2 separate regions of the Homo sapiens genome follow, and region 1 is linked to region 2. Evidence: promoter capture Hi-C in human tissues and cell types (Jung and others, 2019). All regions are on one chromosome and are shown on one strand. Each heading gives the region's core, a stretch centred on a gene start or on the middle of the fragment in contact. The rest is flanking DNA. Distances are from core to core; before and after follow the strand shown.

The links. Contacts are between HindIII fragments. The study calls those that stand out against the background at their distance.
Region 1: a fragment that was not itself captured here is called in contact with the fragment with the promoter of NKAIN3 in region 2 in 2 of the 25 tissues and cell types used here (stomach and thymus).

Annotation. Positions count from the first base shown.
Region 1 is chr8:62,288,644-62,295,010 of GRCh38, forward strand. All of the region lies in intron 1 of NKAIN3 (sodium/potassium transporting ATPase interacting 3), which reads left to right. Among named protein-coding and RNA genes, the nearest start is that of NKAIN3, 43 kb to the left of the region's middle. The HindIII fragment of the contact is 3,126 bases long and covers 2,911-6,036 here.
Region 2 is chr8:62,243,530-62,250,260 of GRCh38, forward strand. It overlaps NKAIN3 (sodium/potassium transporting ATPase interacting 3), which reads left to right and starts at 5,325. Exons shown (of 7, transcript NM_001304533.3): 1 at 5,325-5,598. The coding sequence starts at 5,545. It overlaps LOC124901952 (a long non-coding RNA gene), which reads right to left. Exons shown (of 2, transcript XR_007060932.1): 1 at 5,928-6,731. The HindIII fragment of the contact is 6,824 bases long and covers 116-6,731 here.

The DNA of each region.
Region 1 (6,367 bases), core at 3,224-5,723, 44 kb after region 2:
ATGGACATTTGGGATGGTTCCAAGTCTTTGCTATTGTGAATAGTGCCGCAATAAACATACGTGTGCATGTGTCTTTATAGCAGCATGATTTATAATCCTTTGGGTATATGCCCAGTAATAGGATGGCTGGGTCAAATGGTATTTCTAGTTCTAGATCCTTGAGGAATTGCCACACTAACTTCCACAATGGTTGAACTAGTTTACAGTCCCACCAACAGTGTAAAAGCTTTCCTATTTCTCCACATCCTCCCCAGCATCTGTTGTTACCTGACTTTTTAATGATCACCATTCTAACTGGTGTGAGATGGTATCACATTGTGGTTTTGATTTGCACTTCTCTGATGGCCAGTGATGATGAGCATTTTTTTATGTATCTGTTGGCTGCGTAAATGTCTTCTTTTGAGAAGTGTCTGTTCATATCCTTTGCCCACTTTTTGATGGGGTTGTTTGATTTTTTCTTGTAAATTTGTTTAAGTTCTTTGTAGATTCTGGATATTAGCCCTTTCTCAGATGAGTAGATGGCAAAAATTTTCTCCCATTCTGTAGGTTGCCTGTTCACTCTGATGGTAGTTTCTTTTGCTGTGCAGAAGCTCTTTAGTTTAAGTAGATCCCATTTGTCAATTTTGGCTTTTGTTGCCTTTGCTTTTGGTGTTTTAGTCATGAAGTCCTTGCCCATGCCTATGTCCTGAATGGTATTGCCTAGGTTTTCTTCTAGGGTTTTTCTGGTTTTAGGTCTAACATTTAAGTCTTTAATCCATCTTGAATTAATTGTTGTATAAGATATAAGGAAGGGATCCAGTTTCAGCTTTCTACATATGGCTAGCCAGTTTTCCCAGCACCATTTATTAAATAGGGAATCCTTTACCCATTTCTTGTTTTTGTCAGGTTTGTCAAAGATCAAATGGGTGCAGATGTGTGGTATTATTTCTGGGGGCTCTATTCTATTCTATTGGTCTATATCTCTGTTTTGGTACTGGTACCATGCTGTTTTGGTTACTGTAGGCTTGTAGTATAGTTTGAAGTCAGGTAGGGTGATGCCTCCAGCTTTGTTCTTTTGGCTTAGGATTGTCTTGGCAATGTGGGCTATTTTTGGTTTCATATGAACTTTAAAGTAGTTTTTTCCAGTTCCATGAAGAAAGTCATTGGTAGCTTGATGGGGATGGCATTGAATCTATAAATTACCTTGGGCAGTATGGCCATTTTCACAATATTGATTCTTCCTATCCTTGAGCATGGAATGTTCTTCCATTTGTTTGTGTCTTCTTTTATTTCGTTGAGCAGTGGTTTATAGTTCCCCTTGAAGAGGTCCTTCACATCCCTTGTAAGTTGGATTCCTAGGTATTTTATTCTCTTTGAAGTGATTGTGAATGGGAGTTCACTCATGATTTGGCTCTCTGTTTGTCTGTTATTGGTGTATAGGAATGCTTGTGATTTTTGCACATTGATTTTGTATCCTGAGACTTTGCTGAAGTTGCTTATCAGCTTAAGGAGATTTTGGGCTGAGACGATGGGGTTTTCTAAATATACAATCATGTCATCTGCAAGCAGGGACAATTTGACTTCCTCTTTTCCTAATTGCATATCCTTTATTTCTTTCTCTTGCCTGATTTCCCTGGCCAGAACTTCCAACATTATGTTGAATTGGAGTGGTGAGAGAGGGCATCCCTGTCTTGTGCCAGTTTTCAAAGGGAATGCTTCCAGTTTTTGCCCATTCAGTATGATATTGGCTGTGGGTTTGTCATAAATAGCTCCTATTATTTTGAGATACGTCCCAGCGATACCTGATTTATTGGTAGTTTTTAGCATGAAGGGCTATTGAATTTTGTCAAAGGCCTTTTCTGCATCTATTGAGATAATCATGTTTTTGTCTTTGGTTCTGTTTATATGCTGGATTACGTTTATTGATTTGCATATGTTGAACCAGCCTTGCATCCCAGGGATGAGACCAACTTGCTCATGGTGGATAAGCTTTTTGATGTGCTGCTGGATTCAGTTTGCCAGTATTTTATTAAGGATTTTTGCATCAATGTTCATCAGGGATATTGGTCTAAAATTCTCTTTTTTTGTGTGTCTCTGTCAGGCTTTGGTATCAGGATGATATTGGCCTCGTAAAATGAATTAGGGATGATTCTGCTTTTTCTATTGATTGGAATAATTTCAGAAAGAATGGTACCAGCTCCTCTTTGTACCTCTGGTAGAATTCAGCTGTGAATCCATCTGGTCCTGGACTTTTTTTGGTTGGTAGGCTATTCATTATTGCCTCAATTTCAGAACCTGGTATGGGTCTATTCAGGGATTCCACTTCTTCCTGGTTTAGTCTTCGGAGGGTGTATGTGCCCAGGAATTTATCAACTTCTTCTAGATTTTCTAGTTTATTTGAATAGAGGTGTTTGTAGTATTCTGTGATGGTAGTTTGTATTTCTGTGGGATCAGTGGTGATATCCCCCTTATCATTTTTTATTGCATCTATTTGATTCTTCTCTCTTTTCTTCTTTATTAGTCTTGCTAGCAGTCCATCAATTTTGTTGATCTTTTCAAAAAACCAGCTCCTGGATTCATGGATTTTTCGAAGGGTTTTTGTGTCTCTATCTCCTTCAATTCTGCTCTGATCTTAGTTATTTCTTGACTTCTGCTAGCTTTTGAATGTGTTTGCTCTTGCTTCTCTAGTTCTTTCAATTGTGATGTTAGGGTGTCAATTTTACATCTTTCCTGCTTTCTCATGTGGGCATTTAGTGCTATAAATTTCCCTCTATAGACTGCTTTGAATGTGTCCCAGAGTTTCTGGTATGTTGTGTCTTTGTTTTCATTGGTTTCAAAGAACATCTTTATTTCTGGCTTCATTTTGTTATGCACCCAGTAGTCATGCAGGAGCAGGTTGTTCAGTTTCCATGTAGTTTAGATGTTTTGAGTGAATTTCTTAAGTCTGAGTTCTAGTTGATTGCACTGTGGTCTGAGAGACAGTTTGTTATAATTTCTGTTCTTTTACATTTGCTGAGGAGTGCTTTACTTCGAACTATGTGGTCAATTTTGGAATAAGTGCAGTGTGGTGCTGAGAAGAATGTATATTCTGTTGATTTGGGGTGGAGAGTTCTGTAGATGTCTATTAGGTCTGCATGGTGCAGAGCTGAGTTCAATTCCTGGATATCTTTTTTACATTCTGTCTCGTTGATCTGTCTAATGTTGACCGTGGGATGTGAAAGTCTCCCATTATTATTGTGTGGGAGTCTGTGTCTCTTTGTAGGTCTCCAAGGACCTGCTTTATGAATCTGGGTGCTCCTGTATTGGGTGCATATATATTTAGGATAGTTATCTCTTCTTGTTGAATTGATCCCTTTACCATTATGTAATTGCCTTCTTTGTCTCTTTTGATCTTTGTTGGTTTAAAGTCTGTTTTATCAGAGACTAGGATTACAACCCCTGCTTTTTTTTTGTTTTCCATTTGCTTGGTAGATCTTCCTCCATCCCTTTATTTTGAGCCTACATGTATCTCTGCATGTGAGATGGGTCTCCTGAATGCAGCACACTGATGGGTCTTGACTCTATCCAATTTGCCAGTCTGTGTCTTTTAATTGGAGCATTAAGCCCATTTACATTTAAGTTTAATATTGTTATGTGTGAATTTGATCCTGTCATTATGATGTTAGCTGGTTATTTTGCTTGTTAGTTGATGTGGTTTCTTCCTAGCCTCGATGGTCTTTACAATTTTGCATGTTTTTGCAGTGGCTGGTACCAGTTGTTCCTTTCCATGTTTATTGCTTCCTTGAGGAGCTCTTGTAAGGCAGGCCTGATGGTGACAAAATCTCTCAGCTTTTGTTTGTCTGTAAAGGATTTTATTTCTCCTTCACTTATGAAGCTTAGTTTGGCTGGATATGAAATTCTGGGTTGAAAATTCTTTTCTTTAAGAATGTTGAATATTGGCCCCTAATCTCTTCTGGCTTGTAGAGTTTCTGCTGAGAGATCCACCGTTAGTCTGATGGGCTTCCCTTTGTGGGTAACTCAACCTTTCTCTCTGGCTGCTCTTAACAATTTTTTCCTTCATTTCAACTTTGGTGAATCTGACAATTATGTGTCTTGGAGTTGCTCTTCTTGAATATCTTTGTGGTGTTCTCTGTATTTCCTGAATTTGAATGTTGGCCTGCCTCACTAGGTTGGGGAAGTTGTGGATAATATCCTGAAGAGTGTTTTCCAACTTGGTTCCATTCTCCCCATCACTTTCAGGCACAGCAATCAGACGTAGATTTGGTCTTTTCACATAGTCCCATATTTCTTGGAGGCTTTGTTTGTTTCTTTTTACTCTTTTTTTTTAAACTTGTCTTCTCACTTCATTTCATTCATTTGATCTTCGGTCATTGATACCCTTTCTTCCACTTGATCAAATTGGCTACTGAAGCTTGTGCATGCATCGTGTAGTTCTGATGCCATGGTTTTCAGCTCCATCAGGTCATTTAAGGACTTCTCTACACTGTTTATTCTAGTTAGCTATTCGTCTAATCTTTTTTCAAGGTTTTTAGCTTCTTTTCGATGGGTTCGAATATCCTCCTTTTTCTCGGAGAAGTTTGTTATTACCAATTGTCTGAAGCCTTCTTCTCTCAACTTATCAGTCATTCTCCGTCCAGCTTTGTTCCGTTGCTGGCGAGGAGCTGCGTTCCTTTGGAGGAGAAGAGGCGCTCTGATTTTTAGAATTCTCAGCTTTTCTGCTATGGTTTCTCTCTGTCTTTGCTGTTTTATCTACCTTTGGTCTTTGATGATGGTGACATACAGATGGGGTTTTGGAGTGGATGCCCTTTCTGTTTGTTAGTTTTCCTTCTAACAGTCAGGACCGTCAGCTGCAGGTCTGTTGGAGTTTGCTGGAGGTCCATTCCAGACCCTGTTTGCCTGGGTATCACCAGCGGAGGCTGCAGAACAGCAAATATTGCAGAATGGCAAATGTTGCTGTCTGATCCTTCTTCTGGATGCTTCATCTCAGAGTGACACCCAGCTGTATGAGGTGTCAGTCAGCCCGTATTGGGAGGTGTCTCCCAGTTAGGCTACTCGGGGGTCAGGGACCCATTTCAGGAGGCAGTCTGTCTGTTCTCAGATCTCAAACTCCGTGCTTGGAGAAGCACTACTCTCTTCAAAGCTGTCAGACAGGGAAGTTTAAGTCTGCAGAAGTTTCTGCTGCCTTTTGTTCAGCTATGCCCTGCCCCCAGAGGTGGAGTCTACAGAGGCAGGCAGGCCTCCTTGAGCTGCAGTGGGCTCCACCCAGTTCGAGCTTCCAGGCTACTTTGTTTACTTACTCAAGCCTCAGCAATGGCAGACACCCCTCCCCCAGCCTCACTGCAGCCTTGCAGTTCCATCTCAGACTGCTGTGCTAGTAGTGAGCGAGGCTCTGTGAGGGTGGGACCCTTCGAGTCAGGCACGGGATGCAATCTCCTGGCATGCCGTTTGCTAAGGCCATTGGAAAAGAGCAGTATTAGGGTGGGAGTGTTCTGATTTTCCAGGTACCGTCTGTCACGGCTTCTCTTTGGTAGGAAGGAATTCTCTGACCCCTTGTGCTTCCTGGGTGAAGCGTTGCTCTGCCCTTCTCCATGGGCTGCACCCACTGTCTGACAAGCCCCAGTGAGATGAACCCAGTACCTCAGTTGGAAATGCAGAAATCACCCGTCTTCTGCATCACTTACGCTGGGAGCTGCAGACTGGAGCTGTTCCTATTCAGCCATCTTCAGCCTAGTTCCTTTCTGAGAGTAGGCACTCGAAAATATGTATTGACATGAATTGATTTGAAAAACTTTGATGGAGAGTATCTTTCCCTCATATTCAGTATTTTTTATTTGACTACACAAAAAGGATTATAATAAATAAAATTATAAACATTGAACACCCTGCTCCATAGAGATTTGCTAACAGATGTGTTCTTTTTACTCTTAAATACTCCTATTTTTTGAGACAGAGCCTTACTCTATCACCCAGATAGGTGTGCAGTGACAAGATCATGGTTCACTTTCAGACTCAACCTCCCAATTTCAGCTATTTTCCCACCTTAGCCTGGGGACCACAAGCACGTGTCACCATGCTGGTAAATTTTTGTATTTTAATTTTTTTGGTAGAGATGGGGTCTCCCTATGTTTCCCAGGCTGGTCTCCAACTGGTGGGCTCTAGCTATTCTCCCACCTCAGCCTCCCAAAGTACTGGGAATATAAGTGTGAGTCACTGCACCTGGCCTCCTGTCGAAATTGAGTCAAAGTAATTACCTACATAGTTCAAATTCTAGAGAGGACTCAACACTTCTATCCTTTCCAGAAACATACAAACACACATCTCTCAGGTCCTTTTGATATTCTGGGGCATGTTCCAGTGTTTGTGTCATGTTGTTGGGGTAACCTTTTAC
Region 2 (6,731 bases), core at 4,075-6,574:
GTTACCCTCGCTCTTACTTTGTTACTGTCAATTGTTGGGGCTCTAGCCTATGAGGACTTGTCTGATCTGAGCTCCTGAAATCTTGAAAGCAGAGAGTAGCTGAGTTTTTAATGGTTGTAATGAATTGTTTGAATCTCTGATATGAGGACTGTGACACATGGCTCCCAAGATACACAGTATGCATGTTCGTTGCAGAGAAATCCCCAGTGGTTGCCAATACTCCGCAATAAATTAAGCAGTGAGGAATTCTTGAACTTGCCAGTGTTGGTTGGGCTGCTCACTGCATGACATTAAAAAAACACTAAATGGGCCAGGCGTGGTGGCTTATGCCTGTAATCCCTGCACTTTGGGAGGCTAAGGCGGGTGGATCACTGCAGGTCAGGAGTTCGAGACCAGCCTGGCCAACATGGTGAAACCCCGTCTCTACTAAAAATACAAAAATTAGGTGGGAGTGGTGGTGGGTGCCTGTAATCCCAGCTACTCAGGAGACTGAGGCAGGAGAATTGCTTGGACCTGGGAGGCGGAGGGTGGAGTGAGCTGAGATCGCACCATTGCACTCCAGCCTGGGCGAAAAGAGTGAAACTCTGTCAAAAAAAAAAAAAAAAAAAAAAAAAAGTAAAAAAAGAAAAACACTAAATGTGTATCATTGCAATACTAATTATCATAACCAGATCAGTGTTTTTAGGCCATTGATGGAGTTAATGTTAACTGAGGCTTATTATTAACCAAAACAGAAATGGAAAAAAGGTGCTTGGCTATATCTTTCCAATTGCAGAACTAATTATAAGTAACATTTATTCAATCAAAATATACCAAAGAACTTTTCTTATCCTTTCTCCTTTGGTTTCTCCCACTCCACAAGCTTTCCAGTGACCTTAGAAACACCCCCACACCATATGTCCATCTCTAATTTCTTTCTTATCTCCCGAAAAACAGCCATCTCCGGGGCATTTTTAAATGTTTATATGTAAAGTGTTTAAAATATCAAGAAATATCTATCTTTTTAGAAAGTAAGAAAATATAAAAAATATAACTTATCATTTTTCCCTCGTGCATGCCCCCAACATTCATACATTCAATGCTATGCATAATAAGTGAACCAATTCTAGCAAAAAGGATGGTCTCAACAGCCACACAATGGCACACTTATGTTCTGCAGCCCTTCGCAGGCATGCTTCAAACTAGCCATACATGTGTGTCCACATTTTGCTCCAGTGTAAACCTTATCTTCGCTCCACTTGAGCTGGCATACTGCTTTGAAATGTCTGTCAGATAATCATGAAGTGAAGCCAGTTGTAGGAGAAGGTGTAGAGAATTATAATTTGCTTGCTCCATGAAGGCCCCAAGGAGGTGCTCACAATTAAGCAGGCATCAGAGGAAACACATATATTTACTAATACATTGAAGAACTTTTCACAATGGAGGTAGAATGCTTAATCAGGCAATAAACTATTCAACTCAATGAAAATGCAGAACTGGGAGGTTCACACAAACAAACAAAAAACAGTGCAATAATTAAGGAGTAATTTTAACTCAAAACAATCTTAATTTAAGGAGAAACTTAAAGCTGGTGTCCCATATCCAGTATTTGAAACTGAACCCCCAAAAGTTGGGAATCTGGAAATCTGCACTTCTAGATCTGGCCTCTGGATGTGCTGTCTCCCCCAAGTTATCTGTTAGTTTGGACAACTACAACTCACTCCTCCTTTAAGGGAGATAGGACTGAAGTTTCTCAAAAGGAATTTCACCAAGAAATAAAAACATAGAAGAGATAGACATGAGACAAAAACAAAACAAAACAAACACACAGACTCAAATGGCATTAAGGAGTGTGTGTGTATACATATATTTAATACTCACTACATACTATATATGTGCACATATAATGTTCAACATGATGTGTGAAGTATTATGCTAAAAATGTACACATATTGTTCTTCATGCAACAAATATTGAATTTAACTACTGTTATAAGCACTGGGGAAACAGCTTTGTATTTGAGTTGGGGAGACAGGAAATCATACAGTAAGCAAACAATCAGTTTGAAGAAAAATAGAGTGACTGGAGTATTATTTTAGAAGGCCTGTTAAGTAAAGGCCTCCATGGGATGTGACATGAGGCTGAGACCTGCATAAGCCAAGGCTGTAAACTCCACAGAGACAGGCAAGGGGCAAATGCTAAGGCTTAGCCCTCTGGGGCAAGTCATTTTTATCACACCCACTTTATGTATGGGGAAAACAGGGCTCACAGGGGAGCAAAATGGCTTCTCTGAGATTCTATGGCCAAGAAGCAGCATGAACAGCCATATAGCTGATGGGCTGTTCTACTTAGATTATTTCCTCTCCAGTTGGTTTTACCCAACTCCTGTCCAGGCCGCATCCTTTCCATTGCTCTGTCATTTTTTAGTCTCATTTCCTCTCCCCAAGAGACTGGTAATTCCTCTTTTAAACCTTCTCTAACTCTCATAGGAAGAAAACTTAATGACAGCAGTCGGCACTAACCTCTTTCAGAGGGAGTGCTACTTTATGCCTGCATCTGCTCTCCCTTCCCACCTGTAAGTCCTTGAGGGGAAGAGAGGGAGTGGTATCATTTACCTTTGCAGAGTAGGCAACTAGCACAGCCCTTTGCATAGAAGCAATTAAGAAGTGAACTTGTAAGAAGTATTTGAGGGAAGGATGGAGAAAAGAAGGAAAAAAAGGAAGGGAGAAAGATTTTTAGTTCTGGATGTAATACAATTTAGAAAATGAGAATAAGAGATTGCAGAGAAAAATGAAGGTAGCTTCACACAATTTCTAGACTTCTTATTAGCATTGTGTTATCTTTGTTTCTTATTTAAATGCATTTAGTACAAATGCATTTTTCAACATCTTAAATTACACAAGGAAGAAACTCCAATTTGAGGCTATCAGTAAAGGCAGCAATGGGAAAGGGAGAGGTACAAGGGACCCTCCTGGTCTCCTAAAATCATACCACATGGGTGGTACTAACTCTGAATGTTAGATCAATGTACATTATTACACCTGCTTATGAGGGAACAGTTAGCTTCCCTGTGGGTAACTGCTATTTGTGTCCCAAGTTTCAGAGGCAGCACAGGGAATATGTAAATCCAGGAGCTCTAGAGTCAAATTCCCTGGCTTTGTATTCCTCTTCCTGGTTTAGCAGCCAGGGGAGCCTCTCCTCCTGTTTCCCTATCTTTTCAGTGATGATGCTCACAGCACCCACCCCAATGAGGTTGCAGTGATGATTAAATGAGTGAACACACATAAAGTACTTAGATGGGTGTATGGCACCTGGCAAGGACCCAGTGCAAGTTAGCTGCTAATATGGTACTTCCTAAATAAATAAAATCATGACAAAGTATACTGGGGTAAACATATGTAATTTGGAGAGAAGGAAGTGTCAGTATTTTTATTACCATCATTCATCACAGTCTCTGGAGATGAAAAGGTTACAACAATTTCTGGAAGTTATAGATAGAAGACTTGTTCATGTCCTCTCACTTTTCAGCTGCTTCCTACAGCTTTTAGAGGGGTCAATGGCCTGAGATGTTCTGCAATGTCCTTTTCTACATGCTAAACTACTTATTTGTCAGTGTTCATTTTTTTCTATTGTTTTCATCCATAAAGAATGATGACGAGTACGTGGATTGTGCATAAAGGCAGCGTGCTCACATGATCCTTGATCACTGATGTCTTAACGCTTGAATTAAAAAAGGAGGAGGAGTTCTGACTGGACTTCTCCTGTCTCCATGATAATATCAGAGGTGGAATGTAAACAATGAATGTTCTTGACCCTTTTAATAACCCAAATCCTGAGGTTATTCATGTGTCCCTACTAGAATTTCAAAGATGTGCAGACTTCCTTGGGAATGATAACCGTCTTAAATTATAAACATAGATCCTGAAGAAACGTTTCAGAAAGGATAAAAATAAAAACAGGACTGCTTTTAACGCCTGAACTAACGGCTTGAGCAGTTTCCATGTCTGGAGTGGAAGTATTAAAAACGCAAAGATGTCTTGCCTTTTCTTACCAACCTACCGCCAAGAACCCAGGAGGGCAGCAGTGGGCTAGAAACAGGGTTTCTGTGCCAAATTCTGAAAACAGCCTTTTCTGAGATAATTGGCCTGCAGGCTTGTTCCCTGTTCTGGTGTGCTTTTGAGCTCCTTGCGCAGTTCCACCAGGTACAACAAATGCGCCCATAAAATCTGTCTTTGAGCCCTGATGAAATTTCATCCTCTGCAGAACGCCTCCGCTCTGTTTTATTAGGTGGGAGAGAGCAGGAGAGTTTCCACAGGATTCAGAGAGAGTTTGTCCGTATCTTAACTATCCGAGATCTTCTTTCCAAATCCTTCTCAATTTATTTCTGTGAAGATATATTTATACCTATTCCGGAAACCTTCTCCATTTCTAGAAAAAGCTACGCATCTTCTTCTTCCTCGACTTCTCTTTTCTCCCTCCCGGTGAGGATTTCAAAGGGTATGTGAGAAAAGAACCTTAAGCCAGGTCTCCCCGCGGCGTCCTGGCTAGTCCCGGCGCCCTGGGCGGGTGCATCGCTCCGCCGCAGCGCCCCTTGCCACCCAACTCTGTCCAACTTTCCCTTTCAGACTCCAGCAGGGGCGCCCTCCAGGCAACCGGCTGTGGCGGGCAGAAGCAAGCTCGGATGGGAGACCCCCGAGCTGCGTGCCCAGCGCCGGCTCAACAGACTTGCCCGCGCAGCGCCCGCGGGCCCCCTCGCATCCGGGCAGGTTCCGGAGCTGGGCCTTGCGCTCCCCGGCGCCCGCCCACCCTGGGTGTCTCGCGTCCCGGCCCTTCCTCCCCGGAACCCAAGCTAACCCAACTCCCATCCTCGCCACCTCTGGGGCAGCTCAACTAAGCCGTGTCCCCTCCCTTGCAAACGCGTCCGACCACCCTCCCAACCCCCAGCACAACCCTCAGCAAGAAAGCCCAGCTGGGTCTACCCAGTTACACCGGTCAACGAGGGTCTCCATCGCCGCCGGCCGCCCTAATTCACGCTCATTCATATTCATTCTCTTTTCTCTCTGTCCCTCTTCCTTTCTCCCCAAAGACTCTTAACTAGACAGGCCGATCCTCCCCAGCGGCACTCCCTTTCATTCTTCCCTTCCCACCACACACACACACACACACACACACCCGGACCCAGACAGCCCACTCCACTTTCCAGACGCCCACCTCCTACATACTCCCCTCCCCTAAACAGACATTCACCCACTCGCCATCTGTAGCCTCCTTCCAACCCCCCGCCCCGCCCGCCTGGCTCCCCCTCCCCAAGAAACAGACCTGCACAGTGGGACGCAGGGACCCCCGCCAGACGCTCGGGTCGTGCGCACCGCACTGACCTCGGCCCGCCCCGCCGGGAAACTAACAAAGGCGGGCGCGAGCCCCGAGCCCTGGAGCCGCGAGCGGCGGCCGCGGGGCCGAGGAGCCTGGGCCGGGCCGGGCGGGGACTACTCCGGAGTCAGGAGGCAGCAGCGGCGGAGGACGAGGATCTCTGGCAGTCAGCGCCGCTCGGACGCCGCCGGCACCATGGGCTGCTGCACCGGACGCTGCTCGCTCATCTGCCTCTGCGCGCTGCAGTTGGTGAGTGCCCCGAGGGCCCCTGCCCCAGGACAGGTCCCTGCTCCAGGACCGGCCTCTGCGACTCCCTCTGCGGTTCCGCAGCTCCCGGCAAGGGGCGAACGGGTGAACAGGGCGCTCCGCCCGCCTCCCACCCTCCCCACCGCCTGGCTGGGCTCGCACTGCTCTCCAGCCGCGGGCACTCGCCAGGTCGCCCCTGCCCTGCAGGAGGGCGCGGTCTCACCCCCGGTCCCATGCGCTGGGGTTCGCCGCGCTCCCGCCGGGCGTCGCCACGCGGTCCAGGGGCCAGGAGCCGGCGGAGTGAGGGATTTTCCCGCCCCTTGATCCGATACCTGGTTTAGCACCCTCCGCGTTCGTGCTGAAGTTACACGGGGACTTGCGGGCTCTTTCTTCTTAGGATGATTTCCAGGAATGTTGCTTAATTACACTGTGTGGGAATGCCCAGGTTCTGAGGAGACAGAAGCTGCCTCAACTCTGTTAGTGAAGAGTGAGGTGGTTCTAACCTTAAGCAGGTTGAAAAGTGATGGTTAAGGAGTCTGGGACCTCCAGGAAGGAGATCAGGCTGTGTGCTTCAGCCCCTGCCCTTCCAGTTCCGCTTTGGATTTTGTTGAAATGTTGCATGTTCAGGCGGCGACAGACTGACAGCTGTCATCAAGGAGAGAACAGAGTGAACCGGCTCCATTGGCGCGGTGCCTTGCAGAGGGAGTGTGTGTAATGGGAAGTTAGAAACTAGAGTGGGGAAAAAAGGCCCTTTCAGAGCAGAGCAAATGCTCCTCTTAATCCCTTTGGATCCTGGACTGGCTCTGTGGTCTATTCCATGGTCACTTGAGGTCAAGGCCACAGACCTTTTGAGTCAGACTTTTGTGTGTGAGAGATTAATAGACATCTCCCTTGCGTTATACTTCAGACAGATTCTGAGTGCTCTGCCAAGCTTTCTTCCAAGCATTGTATTTTTTTTCGAGTCACAAATATAAACTAGTATATTTTGACAAGTGAGAGGAAAAAGCTTGCAATGAACTTTACTTAGTAATGTCATCCCTTGCAAGACTTATTAACTGAGGGATAAAATCGTGCTTTTTAGTAGTTAGTCCTTGTTTACATGAAGGCTTTAGAATGTTTTCACTTTTCTCTTGCCT